Regions from separate parts of the Homo sapiens genome. Here all the other regions are linked to region 1. Evidence: promoter capture Hi-C in human tissues and cell types (Jung and others, 2019). All regions are on one chromosome and are shown on one strand. Each heading gives the region's core, a stretch centred on a gene start or on the middle of the fragment in contact. The rest is flanking DNA. Distances are from core to core; before and after follow the strand shown.

Evidence for each region. The method cuts DNA at HindIII sites, captures the fragments that hold promoters and counts their contacts. A contact is called where the count stands out against the background at its distance.
Region 2: a fragment that was not itself captured here is called in contact with the fragment with the promoter of PKP2 in region 1 in 5 of the 25 tissues and cell types used here (bladder, dorsolateral prefrontal cortex, heart left ventricle and 2 more).
Region 3: a contact is called between a fragment that was not itself captured here and the fragment with the promoter of PKP2 in region 1, in 2 of the 25 tissues and cell types used here (hippocampus and neural progenitor cells).

Annotation. Positions count from the first base shown.
Region 1 is chr12:32,894,933-32,898,635 of GRCh38, forward strand. PKP2 (plakophilin 2) reads right to left here and starts at 1,845. Exons shown (of 13, transcript NM_001005242.3): 1 at 1,577-1,845. The coding sequence starts at 1,799. RefSeq lists silencers at 1,844-1,953, 2,154-2,253. The HindIII fragment of the contact is 8,511 bases long and covers 1-3,703 here.
Region 2 is chr12:32,825,020-32,828,338 of GRCh38, forward strand. The region is part of intron 6 of PKP2 (plakophilin 2); the gene reads right to left. Among named protein-coding and RNA genes, the nearest start is that of PKP2, 70 kb to the right of the region's middle. The HindIII fragment of the contact is 3,690 bases long and covers 1-3,127 here.
Region 3 is chr12:32,990,453-32,994,128 of GRCh38, forward strand. No RefSeq gene overlaps it. Among named protein-coding and RNA genes, the nearest start is that of PKP2, 96 kb to the left of the region's middle. The HindIII fragment of the contact is 9,353 bases long and covers 1-3,676 here.

The sequences.
Region 1 (3,703 bases), core at 595-3,094:
AGCCTTTCAGAACTTCCTCAATTTTATTTAAAGAAAAATGGGAGGGGGCCACGGAGAGGCTTAGCATCTAACAAATCCCACTTTGTATTAATCATTTTAAAACTTAATGATAAAACTGATAAGTTTAAAATTCAGGTTTGGGAGTTTAAATACCAGCTCTGCCACTTACCATCTATTAGAGCTTCAGTGTTACTTAACTGCTTAGTTTCCTCATCTGTAAAATGAGGATGAAAATACCTAACTCACAAGTTTTTAAATACATATATATATATATATCTCAAATGAATGCAAACCACATCGCCCAATTCTTGGCACATAGTATGCACTCAGTTATATTAACTACGATCATTGAACATCTTCTCTTTACCTTTCAAGTATGTTAATATTGACTACGTCATCCTTTAGGATTCTTTTACACACACAGTACAGCCTCCCAGACTCTGCTGTTTGAAATCTCTGGTCTGGCCTGTTAGAATTTTTCTGTTTTCCTAATAGAAACTAGAATGGGTTAGCCTACATTCGCCAATGCCCAAGTTACTTCATACAGAAACAACTGAACGTTGCAGGAAACAGATATTCCAACTTAATTGCTCAATTTCTTTCCTCTTCTTTTTGCTATAAGCCAACATAGTGCTTTTATAATGCAAACTCACATACACAGCAACAAGAAGTAAAACAAGGGTCACTGAGTTGATCCCATCACCTGACTTCAGCAGGGGAGAAAAGGATACATCATGATCTCTAATTTTCACAAGTGGCTTGCCATCTTCTTTCCCTTCCACCTCCCCCGTCTATCAATCATGAACATAGTGTGCATGTGTGTGCTTACACCCCTTTCACCTTCGGGTTTAATTTTTTGGAGGGATCAGACTTGCATCACGCCCGCACTGGTGGGGGTAGGAAGCGCAGCTAGGCGGGCACGGCTGTTGCCGGCAGGGCCAAAGTCCCCTACCTCCTCCTCGGCGTGTTTGTTCCCTGGACCAAAGCCTCCTAACTACTTTTCTTCACTCCCTAGATCCACCACTCGCCTCCCACACAGGGTGGAGCGCCCCGAAGTACTTGCATAAGACAGCACAATCCCAATTTATAGGTTGTAGGAGCGCCAGTGCTGTCGGTTTTTTTCCCCAAGATATTTATGGGGGTCATTAATTATTTAACAAATCTAATAAAATTGAAGGGCTCCTTCTCCCAGAAAAAGATCGTACACACCAAAAATTCTGCATAGCATCTCAAGGTGTTTATAGACTCCCTGAACCTTCAAATTAAGTCCGCACCAGTGAGGGGCGCGGACCGGCGGAGTAGAAAAAGAAAGGGGTGAAATCTTGAAGTGAGTTAGTTAACATTGATAGATATGTACAATATTTAATATACATAGGTACCTATATGACAAAGCTGAGTAATAGGTTATGGAAAAGAGTGCTTTCCACAAGCAAGTCGGTCATACCGAAGACGGCGAGCAACAGGTGGGCAGAACACGGGGTCCCGCACTCCCAGCACGCGGGGTGAGGGCGGGATAGGAGGAGGTGACCGGGTGTGGGGCAGGGGGCGGCGCCGGGGAGCGGCGGGCTCCACTCACCGTTGCCCACGGAGCTGCGGCCCTTCCGGGCGAGGGTCTGCTGCACCTGCTCCTGGATCCGCAGGCTCTTGACTGTCTGGCCGCCGCGGCCGCTGCTCCCCGCCAGCTTCAGCTTGGCCTCGGAGGGCAGCGCCAGGCTGGAGCTGTCCAGTTGTCCCAGGATCTGCTGGCCCAGGACGGTCCGGATGTAGCCGTACTCAGCTGGGGCGCCGGGGGCTGCCATGGGGCCGGTGGGGGCGACCGAGCTGCTCGCCTGCCTCTGGACTCGCGGGCGAAGCCGCCACGGAGCTGGGGGCGCTGGCGCGAGCCCCGCCCCGCTCGAGTCCGGCCCCGCCCCTGGCCCGCCCCCCGCGCCGGTGAGAGGCCCGGGCCGGGGGGGAGCTCGGCCTCGTGGGCCGGACGCCCGGCCTTCCCTGAGGAGGGGGCGCGGCTCCGGCCGGGCACGCGCAGTCGGGCCCGGGGGCGGGGGCGGGGGCGGGCCGGACCCGCTGAGCGCGCGGACACCTGGAGACTTGTACCCGCCCGCGGGGAGGTGGGGAGAGGGGCGCGGTTCGCCTGGGGTCGCGCACGTTGTCGGAGTCCCAGCGGATACCGCCTGCCGGGGCCGCGCCCCGCTCTGCCCACGCCCCGCGCTGGACAGGATGGATTTCCGCTCGATGCAGGGAGGGGCTGCCCTGCAGGCAGGTGAGCCCTCGAGAGTCACTCCTGTTCTTGGACTGAGGCTTGCCTCCGGGATCCCCGAGCGAGTAGTATGTCTGGTTAGTCAGGCTTTGTCGCACTGTTGGAAACGTTTCCTGGTTTTCCTGGACCTGAGGGTGAGAAAGGGCTATTTGGTCAGGCGGAAAGGGCAATATGAGGGAAATGTGCCAAGAAGATAACGTGTGAAATAAAAGACTTTCTAAAGAGAGTGTTTTTTTTCTTAGTACAACGTCAGGACTATGTACTTTTTGCACAGATGCAGTCCCAGAAACATATGTTCTTCCTCATTGAGAGCTTCTGTTTTCTCTTGGATACACAAATTGTACCCAGTACTCTTGCTAACCCATTCCTCTCTTACGAACACACCCACACAGAGAAACTCCAACAAGAGGCTCTAGAGAAGAAATGAATTTTAATAGACGATGCTTTTTAAATAGCCCTGCTAACGTTGATTAAGTCCTCTTTATTACAGGCTCTTTGTAGAGAGATCCACGGAGAGGGCCTCCAACTTTCAATCGAATCTTCCACAACTTGTATTTATCGTGCTATTAATTATGTTTCACCGCAGTTGACTACTGAGAACTTGAGAGCTAAGCTCAACAGAAAGGATCCTTGACCTTAAAGTTTACAACCAAAGCCACTTGTCCTGATTTGCCTCTTTGGACTTAAGAGGCAGAAAGAAAAACATGTATCCCTGGTATTAAGATAATATTCCCTTTGATTGCTTGGGTTTGTATGTTCACTTTCCCTCAAATCACTCAATTGCTGCAAAACCCCACTTACTCAAGTCTGAAGTGTTTGGAGAACGCAGCTTCCCTCGTCTTTGTTTTCCTACCCACACCCTTCTGCCTTTAGACACACACTGAATGCTTAGACACACAATGCACAGGTATATGGCCTCCCTTTTTACATGAGCGTCCAGGGAGTGAAGAGGAAACCAAAGGACTGAAAGCGTGGACAACAGAGTAGTGACAGTTCCGCCACCCTTTGTCAGCAGGCCACATGGCTAAGTGGGAGCCATATGGATGTGAGTCCTGGAAGCAATTGCTCCCACCCCAATAGAATGGACCACTATTTAGGCAAATTACACCTTGTGTAAAGCTTGCTTATGTAGCCAGGTGGAAACATCCAACCATGATGCTGAGATGTAATTGAAAAGAGAGGGGTGAACTGAAGGTAAGTGATGATAGAAACGTCCAGCAACATTCCTGTTTCTCTCTCTCTCTCTCTCTCTCTCTTTTCATGGCCTCTTCTGGCAGACCAGAATCTGCTGCTTTGAGAGACAATTTCAGTATCTGTCCATACAGGGTCAGTTGGGGCATTCCTTGTTATTTTGTACCTGAAGAGCCATGACTTAAAATGTCAGCTCTGCCTCCAATTAGATTCCTCACCAGGAGACTAGAGAGGAATTTTTCTCATTTATTTTAA
Region 2 (3,319 bases), core at 33-2,532, 70 kb before region 1:
TTTTTTTTTCCAAAAATGTCAATACCTCAGTCAACAAGAATGACAAAAAATAGGGCCTTCAGGTTTTAAGAACTTGAGAATCACCTCTATTCCCAACTTTAATTGCTAAGAACTGTCCCTATAAAATGTATCAGATCAGTTTCTTTTTTTTTTTTTTTTTTTTTTTTGAGACGGAGTCTCACTCTGTCACCAGGGCTGGAGTGCAGTGGCGCGATCTCGGCTCACTGTAACCTCCACCTCCCGGGTTCAAGCGATTCTCCTGCCTCAGCCTCCCGAGTAGCTGGGACTACAGGCGTGCGTCACTATGCCCAGCTAATTTTTGTATTTTTAGTAGAGACGGGGTTTCACCATGTTGGTTGGCCAGGATGGTCTCTATCTCTTGACCTTGTGAACCGCCCGCCTTGGCCTCCCAAAGTGCTGGGATTACAGGCGTGAGCTACCACGCCTGGCCCAGATCAGTTTCTTTTACTGGTAGGTAGAATATCCAGAATATGTTCAGGACTTTTTCTTTATAATGTGTTAGTGTCATTCTGAACATCAAAAAGAACTGCAACTTTGAGACATTTTTGAGCCTTACTTTCTTCATCTTTAAAATAATATAGGCCAGAAGCTGTGGCTCATGCCTGTAATCCCAGCATTCTGGGAGGCTAAGGCAGGAGGACTGCTTGAGCCCAGGAGTTTAAGACCAGCCTGGGCAACATGGCTAAACCCTGTCTCTATGAAAAAATACAAAAAATTAGCTACGCATGGTGGCATGTGCCTGTAGTCCCAGCTACCTGGGAGACTGAGGAAGAAGATTGCTTGAGCCTGGAGGTTGAGGCTGCAGTGAGCATTACTACACTCCAGCCTGGGTGACAGAGTAAGACCCTGTCTAAAAAATTAACAAAATAAAGTAATATAATATAAGTGATTTCCAAAAGGCCTTCTGCCTCAAAATACTGCTTTCAGTGCATATTTGTCAAAGAAACAAAGGTGCCTAAGCATTACATCAAGAACTAAAGGTGGCTGGGTGTGGTGGCTTACACCTGTAATTCCAGCACTTTGGGAGGCCGAGGCAGGCGGATCATGAGGTCAGGAGATCAAGACCATCTGGCTAACATGGTGAAAACCCGTCTCTACTAAAAGTACCAAACAAAATTAGCCAGGCATGGTGGTGGGCGCCTGTATTCCCAGCTACTCGGGAAGCTGAGGCAGGAGAATGGTGTGAACTCGGAAGGTGGAGCTTGCAGTGAGCCGAGATCGTGCCACTGCACTCCAGCCCGGGTGACAAAGCTAGACACCGTCTCAAAAAAAAAAAAAAAAAAAAGAACTAAAGGGAATGAGAGGAAGATGCACAATATTATACCTTGCTTTCACAGAGATCATATCTATAGGTTGAACTCTGGAAACTGACAAAACCCGACTGTTTTAACCCTCAAAAATGGCAATTTCATGATTCAACGTGACAGTTGAGGAGATAACATACCTAAAACTAAGAATATACTAACAATTTAATGGTTGCTGAATTGATACAATGAATTTTTTAACAAAATCTCTTCTGTGACTGATTCTCATTTGACCCTTCTACTTCCTTATTAATTTTTACTGTACCTGAAAAACTCGGACAGTTTGTTCATTTAAAAAAAAATGAATGGGTTCATAAGCTGGAAATAAAACAATTTTTTACTTAGCTTTTTTCAAAGAATGATCATTTCAACCAAGATCCTCTATCTACTTTGTGAGCCCTTTAAGAATCATGGGGATTCAGAAGCTTGACAGAAACTGAAAAAGCATCTTTTCCAGTCTCCTTATTTTATACATGAAAAACTAGAAGCCAAAAGTTTCCGTTACTTTTCCTGGTGACAGCAAATTAGTGGTAAAGTCAGGAAAAGAGGGCTGTTCTTTATTCTACACCCAGGGTGGCCCAGAACAGAGCAAATCCCAGCTAGCATTCATTCAGTCTGCAAATACCATATGTCCCCAACTACATGATGTTATCATATGTTTAAAAGCTTCCCTTTGGCCTTTTCAACCTCTGGCCAGGATAAATGGCAGTAGTTTAAAATTGCTTTGACAAATCAAAAAGTCTTTCTTCCTGGCTAAGCCCACTACATACCTTGCAGATGGATGACTTAGCTTTGTTTAACTCCGGGGTGTTTATTTCGGGTTAGAATGGTAAGTCAAGTTGGCAGTACTGCCAGTTCACAAGTACTAACTGTTGTCTTGCTGTTTGGTATTATCCAGACTCTACTTGCTTGAAATGGGACTTATCAGGGGTTTCTGGCAGTTGATACTTTTGCTGACAGAAAGTGCATGGAACCCCATTGCTTTAGTATTTGCTCCTGCATATCAAAAATAGTTCCCACCTTACTCAACTACACAGAAATATGAATGATAAGGGTAGATTATTTTATACCACTGCATCCATGAATAGAAGTCATTAGACAGAAAGTAATTTGTTATTGCACCATTCCGAAAATAACCAATAACTATAGAAAATGATACATCCATCTTAAAATATTTTTTTTTAACAGCTAGTACTTAAGCTTGTGGGAATCAGAAAATTAACATGGCTACCTTTAGGCAGAATTGATCTTTTTTACAACGTATCTCTTGAATCATAAGAACTATTTATTGATTGGTTTCCCATACATTACCCAATGGTGGCTCAATAGAAAAATATCTCAAAACTGTAAGTGAAATATACTGAAACAATTACCTTATCGAAAATTAAAAGAGAATGAGCATACAAACATGGTAGTTACTTAATAAATAGTGCTTATTAAAGTTACCAATAGAATATATTAAAAACGTGTAATTTAGTGCCTGTCGTTTGCATTTGATTAAACGATGGGTTTATTTCCTCTGGTATAATCAAGCCTAAGTCTGAGTAAATATCTGCAGACCTTTAAGAAAACTAAAACTGCATACTGTTATATACTGAAATTTAAAAACAGGTCCTTAGGGGTTGAAGGCAAGGGGCCAGGGCCTTAGGAGAAGTAGAGTGAGGAAGGAGACAAATTACTCTTCACATAAAGGCAGGAATTATTTGGAGTTCTTCACCTCCACTGGTCCCAAATGGGAAGACGCCAGTTTGACTTGTGGCCAGTGCTTGATATCGGGAAGAATCTCTCTAGCAATGTGACTTGTAATGGGGGAAGAAATAGAATCTGGACCTCTGTGTGTCTCTGAAATGGTCACGGAGCTTCACATATTTAGGGGGATTCAGGTGTTTTATCAGAAAGCAAATCTGTGACTTTTCACTCCCTCTAGGACCTCTTATCTCACACATTCCTGAGTGTCACAATGAAAAAGAGAAAAGAAAACACAACACCCTGGA
Region 3 (3,676 bases), core at 1,021-3,520, 96 kb after region 1:
CTTAATAGTTAACCCCATTAACTCCCTTAAATTTGCCCATTACCACTGACTTTGAAGGAAGGTTTTGTCTTAGTTATGATCCCTCAAAAGCAGAACCAGAAAGCAGTACTTGGAGGTGGGTAGTTTATCTGGGAGGATTCCAGGATGCACAAAGGAAGGAGCTAAGAAAGTGAGTGAAGACAGGGAGTGTGGACCTAGAACAAACAAAAAGGTCAAAATCTAGTTCAAAGAGCGTGTATTCAAGCCTAAAGTTTGAGAAGGGCCACCCAGGAGCATAGATTCAAGTTGCCCAGGATATACATTTTGGTTAGCAGCCTTTACAAGTGGGTTTTTAAGGAAAAAGAAGAGGCAGTTCCTAAGTTGTTTACCAAGATTTACATTAAGATTACTAAAGCTAGTGGTTGGCTGTACATTGTTCTTTGTATCACATATTCCAGGAATTGGAAGACTGTGGGTGAGACCCCTAGTCACGAAAAAAATGCTTTTAAACAATTGCCTCCAGGCATGGGTTCAGGCGCTGGACAGAACCATGTTTCTTAGTGCCTGGTAAATTTTGTATACCCCAGGTAGCTCAGACAGCTCTGAGCTATTTTTCTTTTCTCAGGAGAAAAGCCACTTGAGGGTGCATTCATAGAGGTGGATTACCTGTGTAGGAAATAGGGTTCTGTCTAGCTGGGGACACACTCAGGAACTTAGACTTGTTCTGCTGAGGGGCAAGGAAATTGTGGTATTTATCTACCTACTCCCTCTCCTCATTGGTTGAGGGTTGCTCTTTGTGTGGAATTCCTAGCACTTCCAGATTGCTGACAAGTATGGATTGAGAGAACCTTGCTTATAGTAGCTTTGCACCATATTAGCAGGAATAGGAACTGCAAAGCACATCCAAAGTGGAATAAAGTTAAGAATTTTACACTGCCAACTGTGCACGCAAGTAGCCTAAGCAATCTCTCCTAGGGGAGACAGAGCCCGCAGGTGGAGAGATAGGGAAGAGTATTTGAGGTGGGAAGTTATCAACGTGCTCATTGTCCATGACAGCTACAGGAACTCAGAGTTGAGGCTGAGGGGATACGGGAGGGAGTGTGGCAACAGCATCTGCTGTGGTCCTTCAAATGTTTAGATTTTTCCCTTGGCAGAACTTGAACTATATTAAGATTGATGCTTCAAAGCCCCCTTAGTGGTTACTCTTGCTGGTAGTAAGTCTGCACATGCTAGGTGAAATGTGCATTCATATATTGAACATACATGCTCTAAGTCTGCACATGTTAGGTGAAGTGTGCCTTCATATATTGGAACAGTTGTAGAGACAACTATAAAAGTTTCCCAGTCTGAGCAGTATGGGGAGGGTCAGGTCTTTATCTCCCAGAGCTCATCACCACCCTCAGTGCAGTCTGCCAGCATCTCACTCCTTTAAGAATCTCATTTTCAGAGAAGTATACTGCAATGGTTAGTGAAATTATTCTCTGTAAAACTGCTTAGAGATTCTTACAGGAACTATTACCCCTCTATTAAAAACAGTGAGAAAAACTTTAAAAAATAATATTTCCTTGGCAGTTACAAACTACTTATTGACATAACCATATTAACTTCCATATAATCATATATTATATATATAATAATTATATTTAAAATCACTCATTTGGATAGCTTTAGCATAAAAATACATTTTAGGGTGGGTAAAAAGGGTGGTCAAAGCTATCATTTATGTCTGAATAGCAATAAGCTCTTAATAGTTCACCCAGCAAACCAATGATAGCAAGATAAAATGTAATTCATAGGCAAAAAAGACAATGCCTACTGCACAATTTAGGATGCTTTACCATAATTAGTGCATAAGAACTGAGATAGTGATTTTTTATTATGAGGGATAAGGTAAACCCAACCAAATTCCAAGATCTTTATGCATTTAGAGAATATTCTTTTTAAAGAGAATGGTTTTATGTGCAGTACCCACAGTTGGGCACTTATAAGTAAATGGATATTTTTCAACTCTGTGCTGTCTTCTGTATATTCTCTTTATGCACAGGCAGAAATTAATTCAGCAGCTAGTCAAGACCACCAACTACGAATAGTGGTCTGTGCTACTAAAAATAGTTCTACAGTATTTAATTTACATGTAATATTTGGTATCTGGTGCTGACACAATCCATAACTGGGGAGAATTATGTGGAAGATCTGACGAATTGTTCTTGAAATAGGGTGAGCAGGAGGAATATTTGGTATATGTCTCCTTATTTAATGTCTATTATGTATATCGTTAAAGATATAAAGATAATGGAACATGGTACTTTTGTTTGATGAATTCAGTCCCTTGGGGGAGACAAACATGCAGTCTTTTGCATCATATTTCCTGTTGCTTGGTGACAAAAATGCATTTTCTTACAGGCCTCTGAGGCTAGACTCAAGTGACTAAAGCCCTTATAAACATTTTCTTGGGTTGAGATTTTTAAAGTACATTTTCGGAAAGATTTAACCCAAAAAGACTACTTTGCTGCATTTCGTTTATTTCTCATCTTTGAAATGAGCAATTGGACTTGCTGCTATTTAAGTTCTCATATAGCTATAAAGAATTCTACATTGCACTATAAATGGGTTAGGGTACAGTGGGGAAGTCTCACAAGAAAATAAGTCTCCCAACCTGAAGATCTTTTATGACCACATATATAATACTATGTACATTAGAGCACTTTTACTAAGGTCTAATGAGAATTTTCTAGGAGTACACAGCTATGAAGTGTCACATTTGAATTATTCACCCAAATGAATCGACCTGAATTTTTAATATTTTAATTTACACCTATTTTACACATTCATGTTACTTAGAAAGTCTACACAATTGCATATTGAAACCTGGGGAAAACAAAGGCAGTAGATTTCACTTTATATTTGTCAGATATAGTGCATTCCTGGCATGCATATGATTAAATAATTTGGGGCAATTTTGCTTTGGATGTAATCAAGACAACATAAAACTTGTCAGCAGTATATGAGCCATAAGAACCGGCTATGGCAGACCCCTGGGAGAGATAAATGTTTTATTTTGTCGTGTTTGGCATGCAGCCTCATTTTGATTTTTATTAGATTAGTCTTTTCTTTCGACTTCTTTTCTTGCAGGCTCTTTCTGAGGGCAACATTATAAGGCTTCAAAAATAGCACAGTGAGCCAAGAGAAACTGCAAAGACACCGCTGTGGGATGGTGATTTGGATATAAAATTCTCTGAGCCAGGTGACATGTTTATGACTAACTCACTTCAGACTTACTCATTTAGTATTGGCACTATTTCAAATAAAAAAAATTCTCTTTTTCTCATGTTTCAGAAGATGTTATTAATTTAAAAGACAGTTAAAAGGTGCCATGAGGTTGAGGACAAAAGCAGATGGCATATTCCAGTGTGTGTTTCTGTCCCCTGATATGGAATGGTCAGTGGAAGTCCTGTGATTATTTTTTGCAGGGTACGATAAGCTATTGGACCCTCTTGGACAACCGTCTAGACCCTGGAGCCATTGTAGTTTGGATAAGGATGCTTAAGTAAGGGGTGGGGGACAGAGAAAGATGTTTGGGGGAGGGGTATCGATATTCTTTCTACACTTTTGCACCCAAGTACCTGGGAAATCTTCTAAGACTACGTTTATGCAGTACCTTCTATGTGTCAGACCACTGTGCCATGCACCTTCTTAT